Regions from separate parts of the Homo sapiens genome. Here regions 2, 3, 4, 5, 6 and 7 are each linked to region 1. The links are contacts of gene promoters, found by promoter capture Hi-C in blood cells and fetal thymus (Javierre and others, 2016). All regions are on one chromosome and are shown on one strand. Each heading gives the region's core, a stretch centred on a gene start or on the middle of the fragment in contact. The rest is flanking DNA. Distances are from core to core; before and after follow the strand shown. Region 1 holds the start of PLAG1 (PLAG1 zinc finger). Region 2 has its middle 4.5 kb from the start of TRY-GTA5-1. Region 3 holds the start of UBE2V2 (ubiquitin conjugating enzyme E2 V2). Region 4 has its middle 3.3 kb from the start of YTHDF3-DT. Region 5 overlaps GGH (gamma-glutamyl hydrolase). Region 6 has its middle 14 kb from the start of MIR4470. Region 7 overlaps ASPH (aspartate beta-hydroxylase).

The links. The method cuts DNA at HindIII sites, captures the fragments that hold promoters and counts their contacts. A CHiCAGO score of 5 or more calls a contact.
Region 2: a contact is called between a fragment that was not itself captured here and the fragment with the promoter of PLAG1 in region 1, in 1 of 17 cell types (naive CD8 T cells). The highest score is 9.9, in naive CD8 T cells.
Region 3: the fragment with the promoter of UBE2V2 here is called in contact with the fragment with the promoter of PLAG1 in region 1 in 3 of 17 cell types (naive CD4 T cells, activated CD4 T cells and total B cells); the score reaches 8.5 in naive CD4 T cells.
Region 4: a contact is called between a fragment that was not itself captured here and the fragment with the promoter of PLAG1 in region 1, in 5 of 17 cell types (total CD4 T cells, non-activated CD4 T cells, activated CD4 T cells and 2 more). The highest score is 15.9, in total CD4 T cells.
Region 5: a fragment that was not itself captured here is called in contact with the fragment with the promoter of PLAG1 in region 1 in 1 of 17 cell types (total CD4 T cells); the score reaches 6.1 in total CD4 T cells.
Region 6: a fragment that was not itself captured here is called in contact with the fragment with the promoter of PLAG1 in region 1 in 2 of 17 cell types (activated CD4 T cells and total CD4 T cells); the score reaches 5.6 in activated CD4 T cells.
Region 7: a fragment that was not itself captured here is called in contact with the fragment with the promoter of PLAG1 in region 1 in 7 of 17 cell types (naive CD4 T cells, total CD4 T cells, fetal thymus and 4 more); the score reaches 12.8 in naive CD4 T cells.

The regions. Positions count from the first base shown.
Region 1 is chr8:56,209,861-56,212,699 of GRCh38, reverse strand. PLAG1 (PLAG1 zinc finger) reads left to right here and starts at 1,427. Exons shown (of 5, transcript NM_002655.3): 1 at 1,427-1,579. It overlaps CHCHD7 (coiled-coil-helix-coiled-coil-helix domain containing 7), which reads right to left and starts at 911. Exons shown (of 4, transcript NM_001011671.3): 1 at 863-911. RefSeq lists an enhancer at 733-802 and silencers at 815-1,040, 883-1,442. The HindIII fragment of the contact is 9,849 bases long and covers 1-2,839 here.
Region 2 is chr8:66,107,435-66,110,273 of GRCh38, reverse strand. No RefSeq gene overlaps it. Among named protein-coding and RNA genes, the nearest start is that of TRY-GTA5-1, 4.5 kb to the left of the region's middle. The HindIII fragment of the contact is 6,679 bases long and covers 1-2,839 here.
Region 3 is chr8:48,007,042-48,009,880 of GRCh38, reverse strand. It overlaps UBE2V2 (ubiquitin conjugating enzyme E2 V2), which reads right to left and starts at 1,450. Exons shown (of 4, transcript NM_003350.3): 1 at 1,411-1,450. The coding sequence starts at 1,426. RefSeq lists silencers at 1,055-1,254, 1,485-1,744. The HindIII fragment of the contact is 2,629 bases long and covers 673-2,839 here.
Region 4 is chr8:63,163,727-63,166,565 of GRCh38, reverse strand. No RefSeq gene overlaps it. Among named protein-coding and RNA genes, the nearest start is that of YTHDF3-DT, 3.3 kb to the left of the region's middle. The HindIII fragment of the contact is 1,193 bases long and covers 764-1,956 here.
Region 5 is chr8:63,026,787-63,029,625 of GRCh38, reverse strand. It overlaps GGH (gamma-glutamyl hydrolase), which reads left to right. Exons shown (of 9, transcript NM_003878.3): 4 at 2,361-2,445. Among named protein-coding and RNA genes, the nearest start is that of GGH, 11 kb to the left of the region's middle. The HindIII fragment of the contact is 6,105 bases long and covers 1-2,839 here.
Region 6 is chr8:61,727,754-61,730,592 of GRCh38, reverse strand. No RefSeq gene overlaps it. Among named protein-coding and RNA genes, the nearest start is that of MIR4470, 14 kb to the right of the region's middle. The HindIII fragment of the contact is 1,164 bases long and covers 887-2,050 here.
Region 7 is chr8:61,706,893-61,709,731 of GRCh38, reverse strand. The region is part of intron 1 of ASPH (aspartate beta-hydroxylase); the gene reads left to right. Among named protein-coding and RNA genes, the nearest start is that of ASPH, 6.3 kb to the left of the region's middle. The HindIII fragment of the contact is 5,713 bases long and covers 1-2,839 here.

The DNA of each region.
Region 1 (2,839 bases), core at 178-2,677:
GCTCCGCTAAAGGGGCCTTGTCTATTACTTTTTGAATGTACTAAATAAATGTTACAAGGCTCTACTACTTGCAGAGCATAACCAGAAAGAAAAACCAAGCAAAGATATGAAGGAGGGGCCACAAAACCATAGCACATTCAGGGGATAACTCTAAAATCCACTCCAAAGGGCAAACTGCTTAATAAAGCAGTTCCTGATTTCCCATCCAGTGGTTCACGTCCCCCCTCTCTAAGTAGCTTTGAAAGGGCAGGGGGAAGGAAACGTTTCTGAACACGTTCATGCCCACACGCCCCGTGGTCGGAGCCCAGGCAGGGTCCGCGGCTCTGCTAAACCCGGAAGCTGCACACGCCGTGCCGTTAACCCACTGCCAGGTGCAAAGTGGAAGGGGGCAAGAAGTCAAGGGTGGCCTGCCGGAGGTGGGCGCGCAGGGCAAGGAGAAACGAAGGGCGAACCCGAGGCCTCGCCGCCTTCCGCGGTGTAGCCCGTCAGCATCTGATCCTGGACGGCGCGCACAGGTGAACACACCTTGCTGTGCCGAGACCATGCCGAGAGAGACAAGGGGCGAGGAAAACGCAGGGAACTGGGGGTGGGGCCGGTAACTGCGCTTCAGAGGCTACACAGGAGAGTGGAAGAAGAGCTGGGGTTGCCCGGACTAGGCAGAGGTCATCTTCCTCGCCCCCGGAGCGAACAGACCCGTGTGGCGGGAGGAAGAGCAACGGGAAGAGGTCCGCGCTGCGGCGAAGCCTGGCGGGAGCGCCTCCGCGCCGCAGAAGTGCATTCGGGCCCCGCTACGGCCCAAGGGCACCCCTCTCTCCCCGCTTTTCTGCGGCCGCTTCGGAGGTAGGGCGGGGGAACCACTCACCTCCGGCCTCCGCTTCGCCAGCACCCAGGCCGTCTCCAGCTCCAAACACGTCAATGGCTCACGCAGCAGGACCTTAAGTAGCGCGCATCCCAACTTGCTGCCCCCGCTCCCCGGCGGCAGCCCGCCCAATCGGCGCGCGCCGCCGCCAGACTGACAGCCGCGCGGGGCCCTGGGCCGCAGGGGCGGTCGGGCCTCGCCCCGCCCCCGCCTGGCGAAAGGAGGGCCGAGGCGGGAGGAGTGGGCGGGGCGGTGAGCGCGACCCCGCCCCCTCTTCCCCCGCCCCACCGCGCCCCCCAGCCGCGGCCCGTCTCTTAACACTTCGGCTTGACGGGCGGCGTCGCGGCCCAATGGGCGGGCCAACTCCCGCCAGCGGCGGCTCCGAGTGGCCAGCTCTCGGGCGGAGCGCGCGCGGGGGGCGGGCGCAGCGGCGGGCGGGGTTTGGGGGCGGGCCGACGGGAGGCGGGGGCGGTGGCCGAACAGGCAGGGGGAGGCAGCGGTGGGCGCGACGTCGGCGGCGGCGGCGGCGGCGGCGGCGGCAGCTGCAAGTTGGGCTGCAGGGGCAGCGCATACACTACAATGGCTGCTGGAAAGAGGCGTAAGGAAACAATTTCCAGGCCCGCCGCGTCCAGCCCGAAATATGAGAAAAAAATTATTAGAAATTCCGCGGGCGGTGTAGAGGCGGCGGACGGGCCGGAGGGAGGATGTTAAAGCCCCGCGGTGAGTTCTCCGGGGGTCCGGGGCGGCGGCGAGGCGTTTAGCGGGAGAAATATCAGGGTTATTTAAATTATGGGACTAGCCGAGGGGGCAGAGGAGCAGCGGCGGCGGCAGGAGGAGGAAAAGTTTGTGCTACTCTCAGCCCCTGCTCAGGACCCCAGAGAGAAAAATAATAATAAAAAATAAAATAAAATAATTACGCGGGGCTGCGAGGACTCCCGAAGTCGCTTCTGACAGGGCAGGGGGCGATGCGGCTGGGGACCCGAAGGTGAGGTCGGTGGGAAAAAAAAAAAAACCTTTATTCAGGGTCTGGAAAGTTTGAAAAGTTTTCCTCCTCCTCCTCCTCCTCCTCCTCTCTGGTGCTGTGAATATTGTGACAGCGGCAGCGGCAGCAGCGAGAGCGGAAGACATTAGAGACCCGAAAAATAAGGGAAAAATTAATATAAATTCAGTTTTGAGAGTAAACTCTCCGCATTTTCCACCAAAACATCCCGGGGGAAGGTCGCTTCCCAAAGGGCCTGGCGGAAACCCGCAGTCGGCAATATTTGGGGGGCACTTTGAGTGACTTGGGGTAACTTTGCCCCTTTTTCAAAAGAGGTTTTTCTTTTCTGGAGAAATGAATTTGTTTTTGCCCTTTCCTCAGGTGGGCAAGCCGGGGTCGGGGTGCGGGGTCTGCAGGGAGGTGTGAGCCCGGGGTGTGTGGCTGCGAGGGGGGGTAGGGGGAGGGGGTGCTAAATGAAAGCAGGAGATCGGCACAGAGCAGGGACAGCTTGTTGTCAGTATCATAAACAACCAAAATGGAGGGAGAACTCAGGCATATAACCAAATAAAAATTTTTAAAAAATCGCAAAAAATCCCTAAAAATCCGGGATGCTCCCCCTTTTCTCGCTAAAGGTAAAAGTATGTACCGCCTTTCCCCTGAAGTCCATTTTGACTTTGCAGGGACCAAGGAGTTAATATTTATTTATTTTTTAAAACTTTCGAAGGGCAAAAGCCTTTTATAACTCAACCGACAATGAGAAAACGTGAAAATCCGATGCAAGAGAAGCAGGGGGAGCGAGGGGGGAGGTGGTAGTGCAGAAACTGCTAAACTTATTGGTAATGTGGACTGATCTCAGATAAGATAAACACTATATTTGCTATTTTATAACTCTCTTTTAATGATCTTTGCGGGGTTTTTTTGGGTGGAAAAAAAAGTGATGCCATTTTCTTAATAGAGTTAATATGTGTGATTGGAAGAATGAACCTTTCCGGCTTTAGATT
Region 2 (2,839 bases), core at 113-2,612, 9.9 Mb before region 1:
GAAAGCAAAAAATAAAAACATGACACTGGGTACAGTGGCTCACCCCTGTCATTCCAGTACTTTGGGAGGCCAGGGCGGGAGGATTGCTTGAAGCTAAGAGTTTGGGACCAGCCTGGGCAACAAAGCAAGACCCCCATCTCTACAAAAGATACGAAAATTAGCTAGACATGGTGGTGTTTACCTGTAGTCCCAGCTACTTGGGAGGCTGAGGCAGAAGGATCTCTTGAGCCCAGGAGTTCAAAGCTGCTGCGGGCTATGATTGATTGCACCATTGCACTCCAGCTCCTGGGACAGAGTGAGATCTGGTTATACACACACACACACACACACACACACACACACACACACACCAAAAAAAAGATAGAAAAGAAAAAAAAAAGAAAAGATAGATCCTGAAGACATAAAGAGTATCTAATATGAGCTCCAGAAAGAGAAAACAGAGACAATGCAGGGGTAAGAATAAAAGAAAGACATTGGTCATCAGATGGAAAGGATCATGCAAGTTAGGATGAATGAAAAATAACCATGCCTGGACACAGCCTAGTGACATTCAAAAGCATTGAGGATAAAGATGAAACCCTGTAACTTTCAGAGATGGAGGAAAACAAAGCAAAATCTAAACAAGAACTAGGCTAGCTACAAAGGAATAAGAATTGGATTATGATCAGACTTCTCATCATCATTACTGGATGCTAGAAGACAGTTGAGCATGGCCTTCAAAGCTCTGCAAAGAAATAATTTTAAGCCTAGAATTGTATGCCAATCAAAGTAGCAATCACATATGAGGACTAATAGTTCATAGTTGCAAGGTCTCATAAAGTTTAAATCTATGATTCCTCTCTGAAACAAATAAAAAGTAAGTAAACATTATTTGAGGATGTTGTACTGGATGGGTTCTCCAGTAAGCTGAAGCTCATGCAGAATTAGAGCACAACATTTTACAGGGGAGTAACATCTGTGAATGGAAAAGGGGAGGACACAGGATTGGGTAGGGGTAGTCATTAGACAGTGATGCAGACCCGACAAAGTTTCTGCCAACCCTCTTGGTGGCTCCAGAGCAAAGATTTCCTTTTGGAGGAGTCTCAAGTTGGGCAGAAATGGTGGGGCCCTAGCATCACCACCTTGCTCAGTCATTGGCCAGAGGCTTAGAACCTTGGCTAGAGGAGTTAACACCTGATGGCTACTAGTTAACCATCCTCCTTGCAGCTGGGCAGTGAGTTCTTTCTTGAAAGGCAGTCTAGCAGCATGTCTCTGTGTATGCCATGGATGTACTTCAGCAAAGCAAAGTAAGAATCCAAGAAGGAGGAGTACACAGGATTTAAGAAAAAAGGAAACCAACCCAGGGACTCAATGAAAAGAAAATCTCAGGTTGACAGTGATGCAGCTGGCAAAGAAAGCAATCAGGACAAATTAAGGGGAGGAAAAAAAAGTTAGAGGGCTCTGGGAAGTTTATTTTTCAAAAAGAAGCGGATTCTTTTACAATAGTAGTGTGATTAAGGATCTGGGAGACCTTAGAGATATGATAAAGGCACATGTCACTTTTCTCAAAAAGACAGAACGAAGATACTCAGGGATTTCTAAAAAAAACAAAAAAACAAAAAAAAACTTTATAAAAAATACGTGGTTCAAATATAAAGCAAACTGAAATATGGCACAATTTTGAGAAATTGATGGCATGCTTGTTGTTGGGCTGAATTGTGTTCTGTCTTCCCTCCCCACCCCAATTTATTTGTTGAAGACCTAACCCCTAGTACTTCAGAATGTGACTGTATTTGGAGATAAGGCCTTTAAAGAGGTAATTAAGCAAAAATGAGGTCATTAGGGTGCACCCTGATCCAATACAACTGGTGTCCTTATAAGGAGAACAGAATACAGAGACAGCAGGCACATGCATGCATAGAGAGAAGGCTACAGGAAGACGCAGGGAGAAGACGGCCATCTACAAGCCACGGAGAGAGGTCTCAGAAGAAACCAAACCTGCCAATACCTTGAGCTTAGACTTCTAGCCTCTAGAAGTGTGAGAAAACAAATTTATCTTTTTAAAAGCCACCCAGTCTGTGATATTTTGTTATGATAGCCCTAACAAACTATATGGGGATGGTGAAGAAATTTGCTTTTGTTTCTGCATTTTTTGACATCATTACATTTTTGTTTAACCATATGTAAGTTATTTTACATAACACGTATGGGTCAGAGTGTCCCATAATTGTCATCTAATTATAGATATTCTGTAATAAAAATTGCTTAAGAATGAAGAAACTGAGGCCCAAATATGTGAAATGACTTATCCAAGGTAACAGAGGGGAGAAGTGGCATATGAGATCTTAGGCCTCCTGAATCACAGCCAGGGCTTTCTGTAGCACTGCTTGGTCTCTCTGTCCTCAGATGGACACTTGGGTTAGGGATATTGGGCTGGCAGCTGCTACTCTGGGAGGAAGGAGGTTGAAAGGCAGGTTCTGATGCCAGTACGGTCAGAAAATGGACATTCTGGGAGTAGAAAAGCGTTTCATCTATTAAAGGTTATTCTCTTCTCACCTCTAAATCCAAAGGTGAAATCCCTTAAATTTGTTAACAGCAGTGCTCCAAGGAGGTGTGTCAAGACTCCGTGAAATGTGAAAAAAAAAAGCCATTGTTTATTTGAAAAATTATTCCTTAGACATATGTGCACTAAAGAGCTTTCAAGTTTTTCCTTTCAGTCAAGGAAACCATTCTACAGATCAGGAAGCTCTACCCAGAAAGATTAAACAATGTCTTTAGGATGACCATCCAGATTAGGGGAGCAAGGCTGTATTCAGGCTTACTGACTTATCCATGGTTTTCTCTAAATATGCACCATCTC
Region 3 (2,839 bases), core at 201-2,700, 8.2 Mb after region 1:
CTTTTAAAACAATCCTTGCCTTACTAGCTAGCTGACCCAAGTATGTATACTACCCCAACACTAGAACTGCTAAAGATCTTAAAACCTATGACACCTATATGTAATAAAGATGTAAAAGACACCACTTAATTAAAATGTATGCAGAATGTATCCTGAGGTATTACTCTAAAGCAACAATTACAACATATATTCAAAGCCTTCCATTTCAGTACATATAGATTTGAAAATTCATTTTATTATGCAATGATGGCATAAACTATTAAATCACACTGCTCTATACTCTTGTTTCAACGAAGACTAGGAAAAGGCAGATCAGGCCGAGCGCGGTGGCTCACACCTGTAATTCCAGCACTCTGGGAGGCCGAAGTGGGCGGATCACCTGAGGTCAGGAGTTCGAGACCAGTCTGGCCAACATGACAAAACCCCGTCTCTACTAAAAATACAAAAATTAGCCGGGCCTGGTGGCACGCGCCTGTAATCCCAGCTACTTGGGAGGCTGAGGCAGGAGAATCACTTGAACCTGGGAGGTGGAGGTTGCAGTGAGCCGAGATCACACCACTGCATTCCAACTGGGCAACAGGGTGAGCCTCTGACTCAAAAAAAAAAAAAAAAAGAAAAGAAAAGAAAAAGGCAGATCACACGGGTTAACATTTTTAAATGTAAACTAAAGCTTAACGTTTTTAACATTTCTGAAATGGTCTAATGTCTAAAACCTCAACGTTAATACTTGTGTGCTCACAGGAAACCAAACATTGTATTCAGTAGGAAAGAGGAGTTGAACAGCTTATCTAAGAAACCACTTGTTCTTCAATTAGCTTTCATCTTGCTCTGGTCTTTTATTTTGTTTGCACTGCAGTTTTCCTCATAAATAATAAAAAGATCACACGTATTCAGTCAGGTAAGAAAGATCCTCTCGCTCTTATTTTAAGGAGCAATCGTCCTCTACTCCCCAACCCATGTCAAGGAGAGTCCAAAGGAATGGGACCCCTACTCTGATCCAGGACACCTCTTGGCCTGACCCATCTTCGGTGCCGGTTGGCCTGACCCATCTTCGGTGCCGGAGGTTGACACCCGCCCACCTTGGGCCTCCTCGCCTCCCTCCCGTAGAGCCTTCAGCCTACAACTCGGACCCGCGCCCGCCGGAACCTACGGGGGCGCCCGCGCGGGAGCCACCCCGCCCCCAGCCCGCCGGCGCGCGGCCGACGCGCGAGCACGACCCGCCAACCCGACGGCCGCCGGGGCCTCGGCGCCGGTCCCACCCGGTCCCAGGCTACGCTCTGCGGAGAGCGCGGCATTCGAGACAGCGCACTCGGGCTTCTCCCGCACGGTCAGCGCTCGGGCGCCAGCAGCAGACGGAGGGGCAGAGCCGGGTCGGAGCGGAAAATCACGCAGCCCGGCCCGGGAACCGACCTGTGGAGACCGCCATCTTCTCCTGCAGCCCGACGCAGCCGCCCGCACGCACGCACGAACCGTCGCGCGTCACTTCCGGGAGCGCGCCGCCCTGCACGCGTCACAGCGGACTCCGCCCCCGGCGGGCGCGGGGCGACCCGAGGGACAGCGCGCACGTGGGCCGAGGGGTCGCGGGGCCTCGCTGCTGTTTCCGCAATTCCCTTGTGAATCCCGCTCTCAAAATGAAACGCTAAAGAATAAGTTCATGAGGGCCGGGCGCGGTGGCTCACGTCTGTAATCCCAGCACTTTGGGAGGCCGAGGCGATCGGATCACCCGAGGTCAGGAGTTCGAAACCAGCCTGGCCAACATGGCGAAACCCCGTCTCTACTAAAAATACAAAAATTAGCCGGACGTGGTGGCGCGCGCCTGTAATCCCAGCTATTTGGGAGGCTGAGGCACGAGAATCGTTTGAACCGGGGAGGCGGAGGGGCAATGAGCCGCGATTGCGCCACTGCACTCCAGCCTGGACAACAGAGCGAGACTCCGCCTCAAAAAAATAAATAAAAATAAGTGGGCATTGACAGATTTGCGTTGATAAACGATTCAAAAGAGTTGGACAATAAATTTGAACAGCTAGGGATGCTGAGGTGGGAGGGTCACGTGAGCCCAAGAGGTGAGGCTGCAGTGAGCAGAAATCGCTGCACTCCAGCCTGGGCAACAGAGGGAGACTCCATTTCAAAAAAAAAAAAGAAAGAAAGAAAAAGGAAAGTAATACAGGCTGGGCGCCGAAGCTCACTTCTGTAATCCTAACACTTTGGGAGGCTGAGGCAGGAGGATGGCTTGAACCCAAGACTTTGAGACCAGCTTGGACAACATAGTGATACCTAGTCTCTACATAAAACTGAAAAAAAAAAAAAAAAAAGATTTTTCACATCCCTTGTAGGTTGTATTCCTAGGTATTTTTATTCTCTTTGTAGCAATTGTGAATGGGAGTTCACTCATGATTTGGCTCTCTGTTTGTCTGTTATTAGTGTATAGGAATGCTTGTGATTTTTGCACATTGATTTTGTATCCTGAGACTTTGCTGAAGTTGCTTGTCAGCTTAAGAAGATTTGGGGCTGAGACTATGGGGTTTTCTAAATATACAATCATGTCATCTGCAAACAGAGACAATTTGACTTCCTCTTTTCCTAATTGAATACCCTTTATTTCTTTCTCTTGCCTGATTGCCCTGGCCAGAACTTCCAATACTATGTTGAATAGGAGTGGTGAGAGAGGGCATCTTTGTCTTGTGCCGGCTTTCAAAGGGAATGCTTTTGGCCGGGCATGGATCCCAGCACTTTGGGAGGCGGAGGCGGGCGGATCACGAGGTCAGAAGATCAAGACCATCTTGGCTAACACAGTGAAACCCTGTCTCTACTAAAAAAAAAAAAATACAAAAAATTAGCC
Region 4 (2,839 bases), core at 111-2,610, 7.0 Mb before region 1:
CCTCAGAATCACGGCAGGAGGCAAAAGCCACTTCTTACATGGAGGGCAGCAGGAGAAAATGAGGAAGAAGCAAAAGTGGGAAACCCCGATAAACCTATCAGATCTCATGAGACTTAATTCACTATAATGAGATTAGCATGGGAAATACCGGTCCCCATGATTCAATTACCTCCCCCTGGGTCCCTCCCACAACACGTGGGAATTCTGGGAGATAAATTCAAGTTGAGATTTGGGTGAGGACATAGCCAAACTATATCATTCTGCCCTGGCCCCTCCAAATCTCATTTCTTACATTTCAAAACCAATCATGCCTTCCCAACAGTACCCCAAAGTCTTAACTCATTTCAGCATTAACCCAAAAGTCTACAGTCCAAAGTCTCATCTGAGACAAGGCAAGTCCCTTTCGCCTATGAGCCTGTAAAATAAAAAGCAAGCCAGCTACTTCGTAGATACAAAGGGGGTACAGATATTGGGTAAATACAGCCATTCCAAATGGGAGAAATTGGCCAAAACAAAGGGGTTACAGGGCCCATGCAAAGGGCACTCAAATTTTAAAGCTCCAAAATGATCCCCTTTGACTCCAGGTCTCACATCCATGTCATGATGATGCAAGAGATGGGTTCCCATGGTCTTGGGCAAGGAGAATGGAGAGGATATTTTGAAAAATGTTGCCACAGAGCCTAGTTTCTAGGTAAAAATGCACTCTTCTAAAGAGCCACTAGGGTGTGTCAGTCTCCTGGAGCACACAGCACAGTGCAAAGCTTGGAAAGGAGAGGGCAGGCTGGATTTAAGGCCCCATTTTTCCCTCAGCCAACTTTGGTGTTTGTGTGTGCGTGTGTTGTTGTTATTTGTTGTTTTGTTGTTTAATTATAGCAACATGTTCTTGCTATGTTGCCCAGGCTGGTCTCCAACTCCTGGGCTCAAGGGATCCTCCCACCTTGGCCTCCCAAAGTGCTGAAATTACAGACAGTGAAGTTCCAGTCTGCACAACTGTAACTTCTGTATGATTACTTGTATCAGTTCAAATTAGGTTCAGCTACAAGTGGTATCAAGTTCAAAATAACAGGAGCCGAAGATAGAAATCTGTTTTTCTCATACAACAGCAGTCTGGATATACTCCAGGACTTGGGTTGCCATTGTATCAGATAATCCAGGCTTCTTCTAGTCTGTTGTTCCACCATCCTGTTATAAATAAAGTTTTGTTGCCACAAAAGAAGTAGCACTCGAATATAGAATTTACTTTTTAATTCTCAGCAAGGCAAGTTACTTCTACAGAAGGGTGCACCCTTACAGATGGAACAACGGTGAGCACAGACTTAGACAAGGGAAGGGAAGGGGTTCTATCCCTGACGCATGTGGCCCCTTCTGCTGTGTTGTTCCCCTATTGGCTAGGGTTAGACCGCACAGGCTAAACTAATTCTGACTGGCTAACTTAAAGAGACTGACAGGGTGAGTGGTTTGGCGGGAAAAATGGTTATGACAGAGCAGGTAATTGGAATGAGTCAGGGTGGAGTAGGTAATCAGAATGAGTCAGGATGGAGCAGGTAATCGAAAAAGGTTGCTTTATGAGGAAGTTAAGTTTAAAAGTAAAAGGCAAAGAATTGAACATACTGACATATTGATTCTTTGAAAAGAAATTTAGAACTCATATCTAACAATCCTCATTATGATACCTCTACCTGTGGCCCATGATGGCTGCTCAACTTCCAGCCATCCTAATCACATTCCCACCAGCAGAAAAACAAGGTTAAGAAAGCACATTGTTCTCCTTTAAGGACATTTTGTAGAAATTGCATTTTTCCCATTTGTATTAGTCTGTTTTTGCATCGCTACAGAGGAATACCCGAGACTGGGAAATTTATAAAGAAAAGAGGTTTCATTGACTTACTGTTCTGCAGGCTATTCAGGAAGCATGGTCCAGCATCTGCTTGGCTTCTGATGAGGCCTCAGAAAGCTTGCAATCATGGCAGAAGGCAAAGGGGGAGCTAGCTTACACATGACGAGAATGGATGCAAGAGTGAGATGGGGGAGGTGACACACACTTTTAAACAACCAGATCTTCTGTGAACTCAGAGAAAGAACTCAATCATCACCAAGGGGATGGTGCTAAACCATTCATGAAGGATCTGCCCCAGTGATCCAAATGCCTCTCCACCCTCAACATTGGGGATTACTTTTTTTTTTTTTTTTTTTGAGATGGAGTCTTGCTCTGTCGCCCAGGCTGGAGTGCAGTGGCACGATCTCGGCTCACTGTAAGCTCCGCCTCCCAGGTTCACACCATTCTCCTGCCTCAGCCTCCCAAGTAGCTGGGACTACAGGATCCTGCCACCACGCCCAGCTAATTTTTCATATTTTTAGTAGAGACGGGGTTTCACCGTGTTAGCCAGGATGGTCTCGATCTCCTGACCTTGTGATCCGCCCGCCTCGGCCTCCCAAAGTGCTGGGATTACAGGCTTGAGCCACCGCACCCGGCTGGGGATTACATTTAATTGTGAAATTTGGAGGGGACAAACATCCAAACTATATTAACATTTCTGGCTACTTTCTACTAACTAAAACATAGTTTCCTACAAGTATTTAAAGTTAAGTGAAAGCTGGAAAATATATTCTGAGTGGCCATGTGTTCAGTTAAAAATGAGGATGTTTATTACTAAGGAAGAGGGGGAGAATGGGTGGGGGGATACTTAGTAATAAACTCTGTGCCTAGTAATTTCCTGGATTTGCTTTGTTAACTAGCAGCACTTAAACTTATCTTTGAATTTTACCAGTGTTTAAGCCAAAATTTATAAGGCTTTCTGTTATCTTTAAGTAACATATATAGTACATGAACGAAGTGTAG
Region 5 (2,839 bases), core at 168-2,667, 6.8 Mb before region 1:
AAATCAGGTAGTCTTTTTTGGGGTAATATTGCAATACCTATTGAAATTAGAAACACGTATACCCTTTGACCTGGGAACTTGAGGAGGAATTTTATTTTATAAATATATTCCCACCTTGCATGAAGACTTAGACTCAAATCTATGCATTGTATTAGTAGTATTGTCTGACAGTCACCCCGTAATCCATCAGGTGAGAATTGGTTAAATAAAACAGACTATGTACATTCAATAGAATACTATGCAGGAATTAAAAAATGCGGCTATCTGTAGATGCTGACTTAGATCACCATTGTCCTATGAACAATGTGATAGTGTTATGTGAAAAAGGCAAGGCACGTGATGGTGTGTATAGCATACACCCCGTTTGCTTTTTGTTAAAGGTGGGGGTGAAGAGATATGCATATTTCTACCAAATCAACACAGCAGATTTTAATGGCAGTTGTTTCTGATTGGGAATAGGGTGGAAGTATTTTACTGTAAAATGTTTTTTTAAAAGAGCTTTATTATTTTTACTTCTAAAACCATGTTAATTTATTGTTTCTTTTAAAAAGCTATGTTTAGAAAATTATTTGCCTTCAGTTCAGTTTGGTTCAGTAAATATTTACCATAAAATCAGTTCAATTTAGTAAAACATTTACAATGCCCAGTATGTGCTGTGTGCAAGGTACTTTGGCATGGACAAAGATCATTAAGTCTAGGCTAGAATATAATAGTAGAACCTCAAAAATAGACCTTTTGAAACACTTCATTTTCTTCCCACCCTCTCCCCAGTTGCATTCCTGTTTGGAGAGGAATCTGAATCAAGTAGCAGTGTAGACAGGAATACATACTTTGGGGAGCTAGCCTGTCCAGATGCTCAGTATGTCTTCATGCAAACCAGCAAAAGGAGTCCATTTTCTATCTTCCTCACTCGTTTTCTGCATTGCCACTAATTGTTGCTCCTGTAGGCCCCTTTTCTCTCTCATGTAGTCACTGAAAGCTGCACTCCAAAGTGGGTTAAATTAGGGGCCTTATTTATATCTCTGAGTGTCACCAGAAAATGAGCCGTATTCTAATGTGACTTCAAAAGCACCTTTATTGAGTCACTGTTATGCAGTGGACCCCATAGTATTTTGCAGGGGAATGCAGAGATGAAAAGACAGAGCCATGCTTTAAGGAGTTTGTCATATAGGAGGGACAGTCAGGTTTTGCTGCATGAAAGGAGTTTGGGGTTAGACATACCGTATTTGGTCATAGGCAGCTTTTTAAATACTAAGTTAATGTCTGTAAGCTGGAGACCTGGGATGCAAAACATAAAAATTAAAAAAAAATACTGAGTTAATGGAAAGAGAGAATGCTAATGAGTCTTCACTAAGCCACTTTTAATTGTTGGATTTTCTGCTTGGATTTGTGGTAGATATTCTCCCACACAGATGCTTATATGTTTTCTACCAGACTGTGATCTTCCTAACAGCAAAAGCCACTCATGTTTGTCTCTCCAGGCAAGTCGAGTCTAGCTCATGGAAGAAACAGAATATATTTCTTGAATAACAACAATCACACAAGTGATATTTCACATATCTCAAGCTCGTATTTAAATATTTTCAAAATTTTAATATGATTAATACCATTTTTCTTACCTCTTTTGAATATCCTTGGTTCTTTCAAGACCTTGCTATAAATTTTAAATTTAAAGTTTAATTTTAAAAGTTGATATAAAAACATGGTAAAATATTTTTCTATATTTCACCTTTATAAGTGTGTAAAATAATATCAAATATTTTTGACTGCCTTCTTTTCCTAGGCTTTTTCTAGAATCGTAATTATGTTTCTTGAAAAAAATGTTCTAATACTGTGCGTGTTTCTGAAGAGACTCGGGGTGATAAGAATTAAATTCTTGTAGAAATTTAATTCTAGCTTAAATATATTTTTATGACCAGCTTGTTCTTTATAGTTAAATTATTTGTGAGCTAAAACCTACCCATAATTATGGACCTGCAATTGATTTGGCATCACAGATCACCTTCATTTAAACCTGGCTATACCTGGAATTTTGTCTGTCTTTGATGTCTAGCTCTGTGTACTCTTGCCCCTCCCCTACTTATTTACTTTTAATTTTCCCACACTCTATTTCATTAAATAAATTTTTTGAAGAAGTTTTTGGAAAATATGCACTAAAGTGTTGTTAACTGCTGTAGTTTCTGAATGGGATTGTAAATATTTTATATTTTCTTTTTTCTTTACTTTTCTAATTTTCTTCAAGGATCTTATTGCATATGTAATAAGAAAAATTGTTTTAAAATAAAAAGATTGTTTTCTGTGTGTGTATGGGTCGGGGGTGGCAAAATACACCCTATTTGATTTATGTAACGTTGTTTCAGAATCCTTTTCCCTGGAGGAAGTGTTGACCTCAGACGCTCAGATTATGCTAAAGTGGCCAAAATATTTTATAACTTGTCCATACAGGTAAATATCAGTTATTGCTTATTATTCCAGATGGGTTTCTGTAAGTTTTTGTGCGAGTGGTTCATTTTTTAAGCAGATGGTAATGCTCCCTTCAAAATTACCCTTAGCCTCATCATACCTTTAATTTTGAGGTGCCTGTTCTTGGCTGCTCCCGCCTATTTTCCATGTGCTTCATCTAATCCTGGGCTTCCAGAGACCCTTCAGAGCACTGCTGACTGCCCCTCTCTTGATGCTTGTTAATGTGAACCGTGTCCTCATGTAGTGTAGACATTCTGATGTCTCTCTCTGTCCTATTTTTTTTTTATGGGCATTGTTTCTATGTTATTAATTCTCACCTCTTCTTGAAATCTGTTCTTCTTCCCAACTCATTCAATCCTATTGGAACTTTCTTCAC
Region 6 (2,839 bases), core at 219-2,718, 5.5 Mb before region 1:
GCATCAAAGGAGAGGATGAGTTTCTGAGCCTGAGCATTTGCGTGAAAGGTGGGACCATTTCTAAAATGAAAACATTAAGCAGGGAGAAGGTCTATGGAGAGAAATCAAGAAACCACAATGCAGTGGATCCTTGACTTTAATGGTTTTTTTTGAGATAAATATAGGACCTTTAGGAATCTTTCAAATTCACACATATCCCCATAGCCTACAAGATTTGACATAAAATGCAGCCAACTGGCCTCTTCCTTTTTAGTCCCTTAAAGATCTCTCCCTTGCTCAGTGAGCAATTTTGGTGGTAGTCAGAGCACTGTCTGGAAATGGGGTCTCAAATATCTTTTTCTTAAAGGACCACATGGTAAACCCCTTTGGGGTATGACTCTGTCCACAGATAAATTTGGCATTATACTCTAACTCATCTAAACCTTTTCATTTTTAGCTAAGGACTCCTTTAGGTATTTCACTTCCATCATTAGCATTAGCAGCTTCTTTTTTGGCCACTTTTCAAGAAGAAATAGAGCTTGGTTCACCTTATGAACATTTCTGAATGTGAGACAATGACTCAGGATAAGGAAGCTAAGTCGAGGCAAGGTTCGTAAGTTAGCTATGAGGTTCTCTCTCTGGCTATGTAGGCCTTTCAGGAATATCAGCTTGCTTATTCCTGGAATATTCAACTGTATTTATTAATAAAATTTGAATTTATTTTGAGTTACAAACCAGGGAGTCTCACAAATGGTTGAAACCATTAATTTTAAATCATGAATGTCAATGACCTACTATCTGAATTGATCATATGAAGTTTTTGCTAGTTCGTTTTCCATGCTTGAGCTTATTGATGAAATTATGCTGTCTGAAATGCCTCTTCTCTGCCCTATGGTAATTCAAAGCTTCCCTTACCTAATTCATGGATTTATTAAGCACCTCAATATGGTTACAAATATCTTAGAGAGGCCATGTGTTCAAACAGAAACAGACAGACTTTGGTTCAGATCCCATCTTCCATTTACAATCTGTGTGACTTCTGAAACGTTGCTCACCCTCTCTGAGCATGTTTCTCCATCTTTCAGTGGGGCTAGTGACACCTAGTGAGGTGTTTGAAAATAGCCCAGAGTAAGTGCCTATGGTGGTCATGGGAGTGCACCCCTCAGACTGCCTTTGAAGGGTGCTTGCCTCGAGAAGCTCAGTTGGCCAATGACCCTGGCTGCCACGCCTTCAGATTTGTCCTGGCATTTACACCAAAGGCCACTGCTCCCACCCTAAGTATGGTGGCAGTAACAGACCTCAGCCATTTCTGCCCAGTATAGGACAGAGCTCTAACGATCACACTTTGCCAGAGTTTCCCATTGGCCTAGTTGAGGTTTTCTGTGAGCTCCTCTGAACCATCTATGGCTCCTCCTATCCAGTCCTCTTTCCTTTTCTTTCTCCATTTACAAGAATCAGGCTGCATCACAGGCCAAATATTCCCTCCCCTACTCCTGCTCCCTGCCCTTTCAGCCTTCTCAGGTGTTTCTCTTAATATACCTCTTACATGTCTGATTCTGTCTTGTCATCTGCCTCTCTCGGATCCTAACTGACATGCTGCCTTTAATGAAGACCAGTAGGACCTTGGGCAGGGTCTGGTCTCTGGAGGTAGGGTTCTTCAGCATTCTAGCATTTCTTCTCATCAGGACATAGAGCACATGTCCTCCCTGCAAGGTGTCACTTGTAAGTAGCCAGTTCAACATTAAGCATGTTTGCCCATTGCTGTTCCCATAAGAGCTCTTGACCTTTGACCTCTGGACTACATCCCATCATCTTTCCAGTATGGATTTTCCTGTGCTTTTCAGAATTCTTAATCCCACCTTTGTGCAGGGTCCATCATCATCCCTCCCCACAGCCATTTCAGCTCCCTGAATTTTGCAAGCTCTTGGAAATACATTTACAGCTGACCTCAGGAACTGGGTCCTAAGTCCCCTATGTTAGCTCTCAGGAAAACAAGAGCTCAAGTGTGCAAGCCCCTGCAAAGTCTCCAAGTTTGGGTAAGAATCATCAGGATCATGTGAAGGGGAAAGCTTGTGCACTAGCACCAGACTGCCAGGGTGCAGATCCTGAAGCTGCCATTTATCAGATGCGTGGCCTTGACTATTAGATGTGTGACTTTGAACATTTTTGGTGCCTCAGTTTACTTGTTCATCAAATTTAGATAACAATCACATCTATTTCATAGGGGTGAGGTGAGGATTGTGACAATAAACTCATGTAAAGCAAGCACTAGCGCCAGACACATAATAAATGCTCATTGCTCATTAATGTCTATTATTTATTTATTTATTTGAGACAGGTTCTTGCTCTGTTGCTGAAGATGGAGTGCAGTGGTGCAATCTCAGTTCACTGCAGCCTCTACCTCCTAGGCTCAAGTGATTCTTCCACCTAAGCCTTCTAAGTAGCTAAGACTACAGGCGCACACCATGACACTTGGCTAATTTTTGTTTATTTTTTGTAGAGACAGCGTCTCACTGTGTTGCCCAGGCTGGTCTCAAACATCTGGGCTCAAGTGATCCTCCCATGTTGGCCTCCCAGAGTGCTGGTATTACAGGTGTGAGCCACCATGCCCGGTGTCATTAATATCTATTTCCATCTATTTATATACATATGTAGATAATAAAATAGAACGAGAGCTCAACTGCAAGCCCTTGGAATGAATTCCAACTGTACATATGTACATAAATAGATGGATAACTAATCATAAAAAGGTTTTTTTCAGTAATAAGTAAAAAATGCAAGGCTGGGCATGGTGGCTTACTCCTGTAATCCCAGCACTTTGGGAGGCTGAGGCAGGAAGATCACCAGAGATCAGGAGCTC
Region 7 (2,839 bases), core at 225-2,724, 5.5 Mb before region 1:
AAAATATGCAGCTTAGTTTGTGGCTTGGATACTTCCATATCACCTCTAAATGGCTTGACTTCATTCTGTACCAAGGTACAAAAATGTTTTTCAAATGAACTTCTCTTTAATAAACCCTGTATGTACATATAACCTATGTACACCCCACCTAAACCTCCGGGGAAAAGCCTCAGCCATCTATCGGGAAATGTGGAGGTGCAAGGGCTGCTTGCTTCATTATCTGCTGCCAGTGTCTGCTCTGCACTGCACATGTGGGTGTGATGAGTTTCTCTGGTTCGGTCCTGCAGCTCTGGCCATTTTTATTAGAGGACTAAGGATTCAGGATGTTCTTTTCTTCCCTGTGTACCACTGTGGGAGTATAGTCTGGAGGCCAGTGCTTTAACTTTTTTTTAATTATACTTTCTTCTGGTACTGCTGGGAGCCAAGATGGTATTTTCTTGTTAGTCATTATTTTTAAAATTTTAGTATTTTATTCCCCTGATGTGAGGGATGCTTCAGGCTTTTGTCCTGCATTTGATCTTTGTTTTTCAGGGATGTGTCTTGGTTACCTTTGGCTGATGTGGTTATCTTTTAACGGCAAATCACTGAATGTAATTCAGTTCCTATCAAATTGGCCACAGCTGAGGACAAATTTGGTTTAGATAACCTATTAGACTCAAAGGAAATGTTGAGCTCCCTTGGTGAATAACTCTTTTTAAAAAGAAAATCATCTTTTGAAGGATCTGGGCTATTCGGCCCCCTGTGAGATTCAGGTCACTTGCCTAGTCATGTGACTGTCATCATCTGCCGTAGATACTATGTGTGCTCCAGAGCGGAGAGCATTGGTGAATTGACTTGGTTGAGGGGTGGGGGGCTGGGGGGTGGGAGTGGTTGCTGTCCAGTTATAGTCAGGTTTCCAAGGGCAGCCACTATCTCTGTACTTGGAGAAATGCCAGCACTTCTCTCCTACATGTGTGCCCACACGTTGAACCCAGTGACTCATCCTGTACTTAAGACCCCAAGGATCAGTCTTAAATTTAAAGTAGGAGAATATCCTTTGATAATTTTATTTCACAACCAGCATTGTTGTAACTGCCTTTTCTCATATTTTACATAGGTTTGACAGCCATTTCTACCATTCCATAGTGCAGAGTCACTATTATTTTGTTGTTCTATCCTGTCTGTAACTTCTTTTTCTTATTTATTATTCTTCTAATATACAGTTTTTGTCCCTATCTTTCACAGGCTGCTTTCAATTTCAATTTTCTTGGTATACTGGAAAGACTCTTTTGGTCTTAGTTTCACTTGTAAATTTTATTTAGGACACTTAATTTTTTGACTTACATAAACCTCAAAATCTGTGTTGTAAATATTTGTTGAAAGAATATCTAGCATTTAACTACTTTTCCATTCTTTGAATCAAGTCAATTTGTATAAGATGCTTGTCACTGAGTTTTTGTAAGTTGTTTCATGGATTTGCTTTTTGGCAGAGAGCTAGTTCTCTAACCTTTATAATAAAAATATTTCTGTGTATTGCTCTTTAAAATTGTATGTATTTGAAATAGTACATATTTAAGCCTATAAATAATTGTAGAGAGTAATGCAGTGGATGCCCATGTACTGACCATATAGGCGAAGAAATGAAACATTATCAGATTCCTAGATTTTCCTCTCCTGTGGTATTCCTTCCTAACCATTGTTAAACATTTTATGGTAGTCATTATCATAAATACAGGTATATATGCACAAAATAATATATAACATGTAGCACATACACATTATGTATCCACACATGTAAACTGTATCTATTATTAAATCAATGTATTTGAAAACTGCCCAGGAAGTATATCTATATCCCTATGTGTAGAAATATACCTATACACACACACACATATATGTATATATACTGTATAGCACGTATTAAAAGTTTTGTGAACAGGCTTCTACTTGGCATACTATTTTGACAGCATTTGTTTGAAATTCCTCCAAACTCCAGTTCTTTATTTTCACATATGTAGTTCTACACCATATGAATATGCCTTGCTTTTCATTTAGCCATCCTATCGCAGGCCACTTTTTTTCTTTCAAATAATGCTGCCCTGTACATGTATGTGCCTATCTCTCCCCATGCATACATGTCTGAGTGTTTTTCTAGGGCATAATCTGGAATTGGAATTGTGGGTCATAGAAAGTACACACATTAGACTTTACTGGATATTGCCATTTTTTAACCCCCAAGTGGTTGTATCAACTTACAGTTCTGCCCCTAATGAATAAGAGCTTGTTCTGTGCCATCATCACATTGTCAACATTTGGTGAAGTTTAATATTTGCCAGTTGAGTGGCTGTGAAGTAGTACTTGAGGGTTTAAACTTGCATTTTTCTAATTACTAGTGAAGTTACTGGTAAGAGTAGCCTTGTGTTTCCTCCTTTGAATTGCCTGTTCGTATATCTTGCCTATTCTTCTGTTTTTGTTTTGTATTTGTAGTATTGATAGGTAGATTTTTTTTTTTTAATATCCTGAACCTTTTGATTATTTTTGATAAAGGACTTCTCCTAGTCTGTGTTTACTCACATTTTCATTTTTTATGGTATACGTTGTTGAACAGAATTTTAAGATTTTAATATATTAATAGAATTTTTCCATTTTGTACTTTGTGGTTCACACCTTTATACTTTTTGTAAGACACATAACACAGATGTTATGAATTATTCTTGTATTTTCCTCTAAAAGATCTGAAACGTTGCTTTTTTACATTTAGATCTCTGAACCACCTGGTGTAGCATTTTATTGTATATTTTGTTATTAGGGATCTAATTCAGTATTGTTTTTTAAAAAGGGCCAATGAGAATGTCCTGTA